Regions from separate parts of the Homo sapiens genome. Here region 2 is linked to region 1. Evidence: promoter capture Hi-C in 16 types of primary human blood cells and fetal thymus (Javierre and others, 2016). All regions are on one chromosome and are shown on one strand. The core of a region is centred on a gene start or on the middle of the fragment in contact, and the rest is flanking DNA. Distances in the headings are between cores, read along the strand shown. Region 1 holds the start of HIGD2B (HIG1 hypoxia inducible domain family member 2B). Region 2 overlaps TMEM202-AS1 (TMEM202 antisense RNA 1).

Evidence for each region. Contacts are between HindIII fragments. The CHiCAGO score rates a contact against its expected background, and 5 or more counts as called.
Region 2: a fragment that was not itself captured here is called in contact with the fragment with the promoter of HIGD2B in region 1 in 1 of 17 cell types (naive CD4 T cells); the score reaches 5.0 in naive CD4 T cells.

What each region holds. Positions count from the first base shown.
Region 1 is chr15:72,683,548-72,688,846 of GRCh38, forward strand. HIGD2B (HIG1 hypoxia inducible domain family member 2B) reads right to left here and starts at 2,635. Exons shown (of 3, transcript NM_001350932.3): 1 at 2,271-2,635. BBS4 (Bardet-Biedl syndrome 4) reads left to right here and starts at 2,660. Exons shown (of 16, transcript NM_033028.5): 1 at 2,660-2,704. The coding sequence starts at 2,681. The HindIII fragment of the contact is 12,662 bases long and covers 1-3,084 here.
Region 2 is chr15:72,459,595-72,464,642 of GRCh38, forward strand. All of the region lies in intron 1 of TMEM202-AS1 (TMEM202 antisense RNA 1), which reads right to left. Among named protein-coding and RNA genes, the nearest start is that of TMEM202-AS1, 12 kb to the right of the region's middle. RefSeq lists an enhancer at 2,412-2,681. The HindIII fragment of the contact is 3,083 bases long and covers 2,093-5,048 here.

The DNA of each region.
Region 1 (5,299 bases), core at 1,385-3,884:
CTAAGCGCTGTGGGTTGGGCGGGGTGGCTCACGCCTGTAATTCCACACTTTGGGAGGCCAAGTTGGCTGGATTGCTTGAGCTCAGGAGCTTGAGACCAGCCTAGGTAACATGATGAAACCCCATCTTTACAAAAGATACAAAAATTAGCTGGGTGTGGTGGCATGAAGCTGTAGTCCCAGCTACTCAGGAGGCTGAGGTGGGAGGATCACTTGAGCCTGGGAGGTAGAGGCTGCAGTGAGCCGTGATTGTCCCACTGCACTTCCGCCTGGGCAACAGAGCGAGATCCTGTCCCAAAAACAAAAAAACTAAGCACTGTGGATTAGAAATTAATAATTTTTCATCTTTATATCTTTTTTTTTTTTTTTGAGACAGTCTTGCTCTGTCTCCCAGGCTGGAGTGCAGTGGCACGATCTCGGCTCACTTAGGCAAGGTGTTTAATTAATCTCTGAAAAGTGGAGAATTTAGCACCAGGCATGGTGACTGGTGCCTGTAATCCTAGCTACTTGAGAGGATGAGGTGGAAGTGTTAAAGGTGGAGGGTGTCCAGGTTCTTGGTGTCTTGAAAAAAGAATTGGACAAAATGCACAAACAAAGCAAGGAAGGGACAAGGAATTTACTGAACATGAAAGTACACTCCAGTGTGGGAGCGGGCCTGAGCTTAGAAGTTCAGTGGCTCCGTTACAGAATTTTGGGGAGTTTAAATAACCCCAGAGGATTCCATGGTTACTTCGGGTATGCCTTATGTAAATAGAGAAGATGAAGTAAAGTTACAAAGACATTTATGGCCTATGCCCTATGGACAGAATATTACCTGTTATAGCTGAAGTGTGAATTGGCCTTATGTTCCCTACCTCCAGACCCTATTTTCCTGCCTCAGGAGGATTACTTGAGCCTAGGAGTTCAAGTCCAGTCTGGACATCAATAGTGAGACCCCTGCCTCTGAAAAAAAATTTTTTTGAGACAGAGTTTTGCTCTTGTTGCCCAGGCTGGAGTGCAATGGGATGATCTCAGCTCACTGTAACTTCCACCTCCTGGATTCAAGCAATTCTCCTGCCTCAGCTTCCCTAGTAGCTGGGATTACAGGAGCCGGCCACCACGCCCGGATAATTTTTTGTATTTTTAGTAGAGACAGGGTTACACCATGTTGGCCAGGCTGGTCTTGAACTCCTGACCTCAGGTGATCTGCCCACCTCAGCCTCACAAAGTCCTGGGATTACAGGCGTGAGCCACCGAGCCCAGCAAATTTTTGTTTTTTAGACGGAGTCTCCCTCTATCGCCCAGGCTGGAGCACAGAAATGCGATCTCGGCTCACTGCAACCTCTGCCGCTTGGGTTCAAGTGATTCTCCTGACTCAGCCTCCCGAGTAGCTGCGATTACAGGCGGGCACCACCATGCCCGACTAATTTTTTGTATTTTTAGTAGAGACGGGGTTTCACCATGCTGGCCAAGCTGGAAAATTTTATTTTTAATAAATGAAAGGCAGAGTATTTATCTGAAAAAAGTGGGAGACCAACAGTCTCATGGGATTGTTATAAAGATTAAAAGAGAGAGTGTTACTGAAATACTTAGAAGAGCTGTTATTCTATTGCTGTCCTTTCCCCTTGTATTTGGATAGATTACCGTACTTGTTTCTTCTATGTAACTCTAATTGTCAGTGGGGTTCTCCCTCTCTTAGAGGCCTGGAGAAACTTGTCTTAAATGCTTTCCCAGTTAATGAATTGGGAGAGGCAGATTTTATGTCTAAATTACAAGGGCGAGACTTAAAAGTATGAATTGGGGCTAATGTCAGTGCTCAGGTGCAGGGATCCTCCGTTTTGTTCATCACACAGCTCCCGGCACTTTAATAAATGAGGCTCAAAGAAACGACGGGCTTAGGTCATGCAGTAGTCAAATTCAGAACTCATGTTTGATTCCAAAGCCCACACGTTTTCCTAGTTTAGAAACACTAAACATTTAATTCACCGCACCGGGGGCCAGACAGGTAATGGAGAACGCCTTAAGTATGTTAGGAAGGGAAGTTATCTACAGTCGCAGCCGCTATTCAGATCTATTTCACTGCCTTGCAGAAAACGCCGACTGTCGTCTCTTTATCCCATGGCCGATTTCTTGTGAAATCTCCTAACTTTTAAATATTTCCAATCAAAAGACTGCCGTTCAAATGCAGCCCACCAGGAGCATGTTTGCAAACTCTGGAGTAAACAAGAGTGGGAAGCTGATAAGGTGAGTACCTCAGTTCGATAGTGACAGCCAAGAAACGGGGAGTTTTGTACCTAAGGCGAGAAAGAAATTCTCCGCCGAAATCTCCCGGAAGAAGGACTGAATTAAATGCAGATTAGAGTCAGGGCAGGGTAAGGTGGCGGGAGAACTAGGCTGCCATCCCAGGTGGCTGGCCTACCAGCCAGCGCGGCCGGAGGTACAGACCATGTACAGACCACGGCGAGGGGTGTTAGGGGCTTCTCGGGATAAAGGCAGCGAGTGGCTGCGCATTCCCTCCCCGACTCTTTCAGAGGTAAGCCTTCTGTGGAGCAGACCCTAATCCTCCCCCTGATTCCTTAGGTCACTCGGCGATTTACTTCCTTCCCCCGCTTCCTCACAGTCCTCCACAGCCCTACGACTTCCGCTTGCCTCGTCGTCTGGGAAACCGCCGACTTCCGGCCGCGCAGCGGTGGGCTGAGCTAAAATGGCTGAGGAGAGAGTCGCGACGGTGAGCGCCGAGATTCTCTTTAGTTGCCCGGCCGCAGGGCAAGGCAAGCTGGCGGGTGGCTTTTGTCCCATGCAGCGGTTCCTGGAGAGAGGCGGAGCTGGGTGCCGAGCGTCTCAGGGTGGGCGGGGCGACACGGTCCCCTTTTTACTGTCCCGGGAACTGGTCGCCTGGGGCAAGTCTGGATACTTAGCAGCACAGGTCCTGTTCTAGGACTGTAGTCCCTCTTGGGGTGCGCTGGACGGAGAAGGGAGACTTTTCACCAGTAATGGCTCTTACCGTAGTGCCATCTTTTTCTGTCTCGGGGGTTTGGAAGGTAATGACTAGCACTTGTGTAGACAGTTCCTGTTAATCCCGTGAATTGGGAATTTAACATGCCTGGAAGCTTGCAGCGTCACTGCCTTCTGCCAGTGGAGCGGGACTGTGTTTTTTCTGTGGTGATTAAGTTTAGGAAAGTACGGTTTTGGAATTCATCTGAAGGCTGAGTTGGGCGTTCACTCCACAGAACTGCTAATATAGAGGAACCCGATGAATTCAGGATGACCTAGTCGCTATTTTTTGAGGCATATATCTATAATTGGATCTAATTTCGGTAAAGTGCCAAGTGTGAAGCTTTGTTTACCTTGCTTTAGTGTTGGGTTTGAAAGCCTGTTCTGTCCATTTGTTAGAATGATTTTAGGTATTCGGAATTTATTGTCTTTCGAAAAACGCCCTGGAAAACAGTACAAATAGCAGCCTTTGGCTGTTTTACAACTTAGTTTTGGCTAAGCAGCAAGGTTAGTGTTATTGTTAGAGGGCCTTTTGTTTGTTTTCTACTCTCATTTGCAGAGTAGTCATATTATTCTAGTCTAATTAGAAAACTCTGAAGACAGAAACTTTTTTTTTTGAGACGGAGTGTCGCTGTTGTCGGCCCGGGCTGGAGTGCAATGGCGCGATCTCGGCTCACTGCAACCTCCGCCTCCCAGGTTCCAGCAATTCTCCTGCCTCAGCCTCCGGATTAGCTGAGAATACAGGCGCCTGCCACCACGCCCGGCCGAAACATTTTTATTAAGCTAAGAAATTTAAAATAGCTAGGCCGGACGCGGTGCATCACGCCTGTAATCCCAGCACTTTGGGAGGCCGAGACGGGTGGATCACTTGAGGTCATGAGTTTGAGACCATCCTGGCCAACATGGTGAAACCCCGTCTCTACTAAAAATACAAAAATTAGCGGGGCATCGTGGCGCTCGCCTGTAATCCCAGGTACCTGGAAGGCTGAGGCAGGAGAATCGCTTGAACCCCGGAGGCGGAGGTTGCAGTGAGCCGAGATCATGCCATTGCACTCCAGCATGAGCGACAGAGACAGACTCCTTCTCAAAAAAAAAGAAAGAAAAAACAGATTTTAAAATAATTAAATAGGCCAGGCTCAGTGGCTCACGCCTGTAATCCTAGCACCTTGGGAGGCTGAGGTGGGTGGATCGCCTGAGGTCAGGAGTTCGAGACCAGCCTGGCCAACGTAGTGAAACCCTGTCCCTACTAAAAAAATACAAAAAATTAGCTGGACGTGGTGGCGGGCGCTGGTAATCCCAGCTACTAGGGAGGCTGAGGCAGGAGAATCGCTTAGAACCCAGGAGGCAGAGGTTGCAGTGAGCCGAGATCGTGCCATTTCACTGCAGCCTGGGCATCCAGAGCAAAACTCCGTCTCAGAAAAAAAAAAAAAGTAAATAGCATGGTTAATGTTACTGGGTTTTAAATATTAAAAACATAGGAAAGAAAATACTTCCACTCCAGCCTGGGTGACAGAGCAAGACTCCGTCTCAAAAAAAAAAAAAAAAAAAAAAAGAAAATACTTCTAAGTAATCTTAAAGTGTAAAAGATAATGGGTAACATAACATTGCTACAAATATAGCTTATCCTCTAGTGCTCATCACAAGTGTTTGTGTAATAGAATATGAACTTGAGTCTGTGACGGCAGAATTGTCATGTACATTTGAATGTCTAATACTGTTTTAAAGAGAATAGCTTTTGTTTCGATATGACTTAGCAATTAAGCCTGAAGTTAACTGTTTTCATTGTTGTCAAATTTATTGCTAGTAGTGTTACGTTTATAGTAATTTTCATCTTTTCAAGTTACCAATGCATGGAAATGTGAATTTCTGTCCTTTTAGGAAGTGGTATTTTATCTTTTTTTTTTTTTTTTTTTTGAGACGGAGTCTCACTTTGTCGCCCTGTCTGGAGTGCAGTGGCGTGATCTCAGCTCAGTGGAACCTCTGCCTCCCGGGTTCAAGTGATTTTTCTGCCTCAGCCTCCCGAGTAGCTGGGGTTACAGGCCCTCACCACCATGCCTGGCTTATTTTTGTGGAGATGGGGTTTCACCACGTTGGCCAGGCTGGTCTTGAACTCCTGACCTTGTGATCTGCACGCCTCGGTCTCCCAAAGTGTTGGGATTACAGGCGTGAGCCATGGCCCCCTGCCTTATTTTTTAATACAATTAAAAGAACCCAGTAATCCTACTCCTAGACCTGTGTCCCACAGAAAAAAGTGTTAAACATGAGCGTGTAGTACTAGGGCATTCGTTGTAGTACTATCCGTAGTGGCAAAACGCTGGAAGCAAATTAA
Region 2 (5,048 bases), core at 2,384-4,883, 220 kb before region 1:
TTGAACTTTTCGTCATTTATTAGACATTTGTATTTCAGTTTATGTTCTCTGTCCCTCTCTCCAAAACACTAGCATGTGTACATGTGTTTCTTATTCATTCATATGACTTTTATACATTAAGGATAAATAACTTCATGTCATATATTTTGTAAGTATTTTTCCAGTTTGTATCTTTTATTTATGTTGTTTTTGCAGAAGTATCAAATTATATGGTCATACCTATCAATCTTTTGCTTTATAGATATTGCCTTTGGTGCTATCCTTGATAAGGCCTTCCCCACTCTCAAATATTTAAATATTCAACAATATTTCTCCCACTAATTTTATGTTTTCTTTCTTCAGACCTTTATGTAGATTTTATTTTTATATATAACATAGGACAAGGATATAACTTGGTAAAACGAATGGGGAGACAAATTTTTACCTTATTTATTGCATGTCTTCTAAATATCAAAAACTGTGTTATATATGGTTTGTAGTAATAAACACAGCAGGGATGTTCTCATCCTTATGTAATTTACCAACTCAGAGAGACAACATACTGTTTAAGTGCAAATTTGATAAATGCTATAAAGAAGTGCTAAGTTCTATGGTAGTGTATAGTATGTGGAATCTATCAACTGTTCAGGTACTTATTGAACAGTTGATCTTTAAAAGGAGATGGTTTGGTGGAAGTGGAGGAGAATTCAATTAAAAAACAACAGGGCACAGTGGTGTACGTTTGTAATCCCAGCTACTCAGGAGGCTGAGGTGGAAGTACTGCTTAAACCCAGGAGTTAGAGACCAGCTTGGGCAGCATAGGGAGACCTCATTTTTTGGGGGGAGGGGGAATACCCAAAAAACCCAACCATACACACACAAAACCAACCAAACAAAAAACAACAATGAACATTTATTATTTCAGAGTATCCCTGGGTCAGAATCTGGGTGTGGCTTAGCTGGGTTCTCTGTTTCAGGATCTCTCGCAAAGATGCAAACAAAAGTCTTGCCCAGGGCTGCGATCGCATCTGCAGGAAGATTCACTTCCAAGTTTGCTTACATGGTTGTTGGCAGAATGCAGCTCCTCATAGGCTGTTAAGCCAAGGCTTTCAGTTCTTTGGTAGGAATTCAGTTCCTCACAGGTTTTTTGGTGGCTGGAGATCTCCTTTAGTTCCTTGGCATATAGGTCAGAATAATTTATTTTTGTCCTAGGGTGGGTACTTAAGCTTTGATAAAACTGATTTATAATGTCTTTATGGAGTAAAAATTAGCACAGCATTCATGTTCTTAGCTCTATATTCAAGAATAAAATAAGTGTGTATATTCTGTGAATATTCTGGTTGGTATACATTTTTGGCCTGTATGTAAATTAATATGTGGGTGACTTAAACATTCACAGAGAATTAATTATATATTGCAAAGGACAAACACATAATTCTGTTCAAGATAGGAATGTCAAGAAAACTTTAAGATGATTTTGTCTTTTAATCACATCATGGTTATAATTTCAAATGATTTTTCATTCCCTCCTTTCCTTCCCATCACACAGACTATACTGTAAATATACTCTCTGAAGTTGCACAACGTGACAAGCTTAAGCTTAGCCACACAAGTATGTGCATATACAATTATTTTATTTTTTGATCTGATGCTGACAGTGCTGTGCGTTTTACCTGAACTCAGAAAATTTAATTTCTAAATTATAATATATGGTTAGATATTTACTAAAATCCTGAAACTAGAATTTTACTCCCAATCTTAGACCTTGCAAATGGTAACTCTAGTTTAGTGTACACATTTTCAACATGGGCAATATTACTCCCCAAGAGGAAAAAATTGTTTTTTTGGGAGGGTATGAAAAAAAGTATGTTTTATATATAAAGCATAGATACACATACAGTCCATTAAAGCATATACAGTGTATCTATGGTGTTAAAATTTTACAGTGGGGTGCTGAATAGGAAAAACAGGTCTAAAAGGGTTCCATAAGGGGGCTGATAATGGAAATAAAAGTTGAGAAACATGGCCCTAGTGCTAAGCTTAACAGACAGCTGTTTGACGAACCATCTGGCATTAGATTTTTTTCCTGCATGATTTCCTGTATTAGAATATAAGCTTCTTAAGGACAGAAAATGTAATCTGATTTGTATTTTCAATAATAGCTAACACAATAGTTACGTTCAACTGCATTCAGTATATGTATATTTAATTGAATTAATATGGAGTACATCTTCCCCTACTTGCACTCATCCTATTAGCTCTATAAAATCTAAATGTAATGACCAAAATTAGTCTAGTAAAGCACAACCTATCACAATCTCCCTCACAAAAATCCTAGTAAAATAATGACAAATTTTATTCAAAGAATGGAAAATCTTCAAAGTAGCATAAGAGAAGGAGTACAGACTAGAGACAGAGAGATGAATCAGGGCTTTGATTTCCACCTCTTATCATTTGCAAGCCGAGGAGCCTTGAGCCAAGTTATGTAAAGAGAAAGTGAAAGAGGATAAAAAAGAATAAAAAAGGGACCTTTCTAGGGGAAGGGTACAAGAAGGGACAATGGCATTTCTAGCAGGTTTTTGTTTTGTTTTGAGACAGGGTCTCGCTCTGTCTCCAGGCTGGAGTGCAGTGGTGCGATCTTGGCTCACTGCAACCTCTGCCTCCCGGGTTCAAGCGATTCTTGTGCCTCAGCCCTCCCCCCGAGTAGCTGTGATTACAGGCAAGTGCCACTAGGTTTGGCTAATTTTTTGTATTTTCAGTAGAGACAGGGTTTCGCCATGTTGGCCGGGCTGGTCTCAAACTCCTAGCCTCATGTGATTCGCCTGCCTCGGCTCCCAAAGTGCTGGGATTACAAGCATGAGCCGCCGTGCCTGGCCCTAACAGTCTTATATACACCCAAAATTTCAGGCATGCTGAATTTCTGGCAGTTCCCCAAATAATGCATGGCTCAAATATGCCGTATTTCACACTTACATATTTTATATATACATTCACATTCCTCTTCCCAGAACATCATTTATTTGTCCTCCAATACTCAGCTCAGGTCACACTTTTTTTTTTTTTGGATGGAGTCTTGCTCTGTTGCCCAGGCTAGAGTGCAGTGGCACGATCCTGGCTCACTGCAAACTCTGCCTCCCAGGTTCACGCCATTCTCCTGCCTCAGCCTCCCAAGTAGCTGGGACTACAGGCGCCCGCCACCACACCTGGCTAATTTAAAAAAATATATATTTTAGTAGAGACGGGGTTTCACCGTGTTAGCCAGGATGGTCTCGATATCCTGACCTCGTGATCCGCCCACCTTGGCCTCCCAAAGTGCTGGGATTACAGGCGTGAGCCACCATGCTTGGCCAGCTCAGGCCACATTTTCCCTAGGAAGGCCTCCATGACACGCTTGTGTGCCTTCTACACTGAGTTAGATACATATATTCTTGCTTCCCTAACATTCAGATCATACTTCTACTATAGTACTTATAATTAATGGTTTACATGTCTGCTTCTCTTACTAGCCTGAGAACTTCTTGAGAGCTGAAATGGTTTTATTTATTTATCTTTTCAGACAGAGTCTCGTTCTGTTGTCCAGGCTGGAGTGCAATGGCGGGATCTCGGCTCACTGCAACCTCCGCCTCCTGGGTTCAAGTGATTCTCCTGCCTCAGCATCCTGAGCAGCTGGTTTACAGGCGCATGCCAGCACACCTGGCTAATTTTTTTTTTTTTTTTTGCATTTTTAATAGAGACAGGATTTCACCGTCTGGCCAGGCTGGTCTCAAACTCCCAACCTCAGGCGATCCGCTCGCCTCGGCCTCCCAATGTGCTGGAATTACAGACAGGCGTGAGCCACCGCGCCTGGCCTATTTATCTTCTTAACCTCAACATCTAGCACAGTGCCTGACATGTTAGTGAACAACTGACTTGTTGAATTAACTAATAAAAATACAGGCATACAAGAAGAGCACAGTAGCATTTTCAGCAATTTGACAAATGAATATTGCTTTGTTTTCTTCAAAGGGCCACTACTTTAAAATTGAATAATCATCTTTGTATATAGTCAGACCTAAAACAAAGCTCTGTACACTTCCTGTGTCAAATAATAATAATGTAAGTCCTTTACACTAACTCATTTCATCATTGCAATCCAATGAGGAAAACCTTATTATTTTTCCTTTTTTTTTCCTCAGATGAGGAAACAGGCTTGTAAGAGGTAAACTAATTTGCCTAAGGTCACATATTTAATAAGTAGGGTTTCTAGCTCTGGCATGTATGGTGCTAACTACCACACTATTGTGCCTCTCAAAGTCAGCTGAGTAAGAATACTCACTGTTGCACAATATCTCATCCCTCTGTCTGACCCTCTCCACCTGCAATCTCCCATATACACTCACTTAGGAGAAACAAAGGCTCACGGCTCATACATGCAGCTTGTGATTTAGAAAAAAAATGTGCCCACATATGCTCGGCTTTGCTTAATGTAAACAAATATACTAATCAATATGGTATAAACCTCCAGGACTATTCTGTTTTAATAACATGTAGATACAATGTAATGATTTTAATTACTTTATTGTCCTGTCAAATTCTTTAAAATGGGAACTTGAGGCCGGGTGCGGTGGCTCACGCCTGTAATTCCAGCACTTTGGGAGGACAAGGTGGGCGGATCACCTGAGGTCGGGAGTTTGAGACCAGCCTGACCAACATGGAGAAACCCCATCTCTACTAAAAATACAAAATTAGCTAGACATAGTGGCGCATGCCTGTAATCCCAGCTACTCAGGAGGCTGAGGCAGGAGAATTGCTTCAACCCGGGAAGCAGAGGTTGTGGTGAGCTGAGATCGCGCCATTGCCCTCCAGCCTGGACAACAGCGAAACTGAAACTTCACCTCAAAATAACAAAAAAAAAAGGAACTTGGTATGCTGCTCCAGCAATTTAAATGTGTCAATCCACGTATCCAATGTTAAATTATCTTTTCCAGAAAGCAAAATGTGAAGCGGCTTATAAAGACTTCTTGTCAAGTATCACAAGCTCTCCATTATTACTTTACTAAAGATGTCTGTGATGCCACTTTGCAAAATAA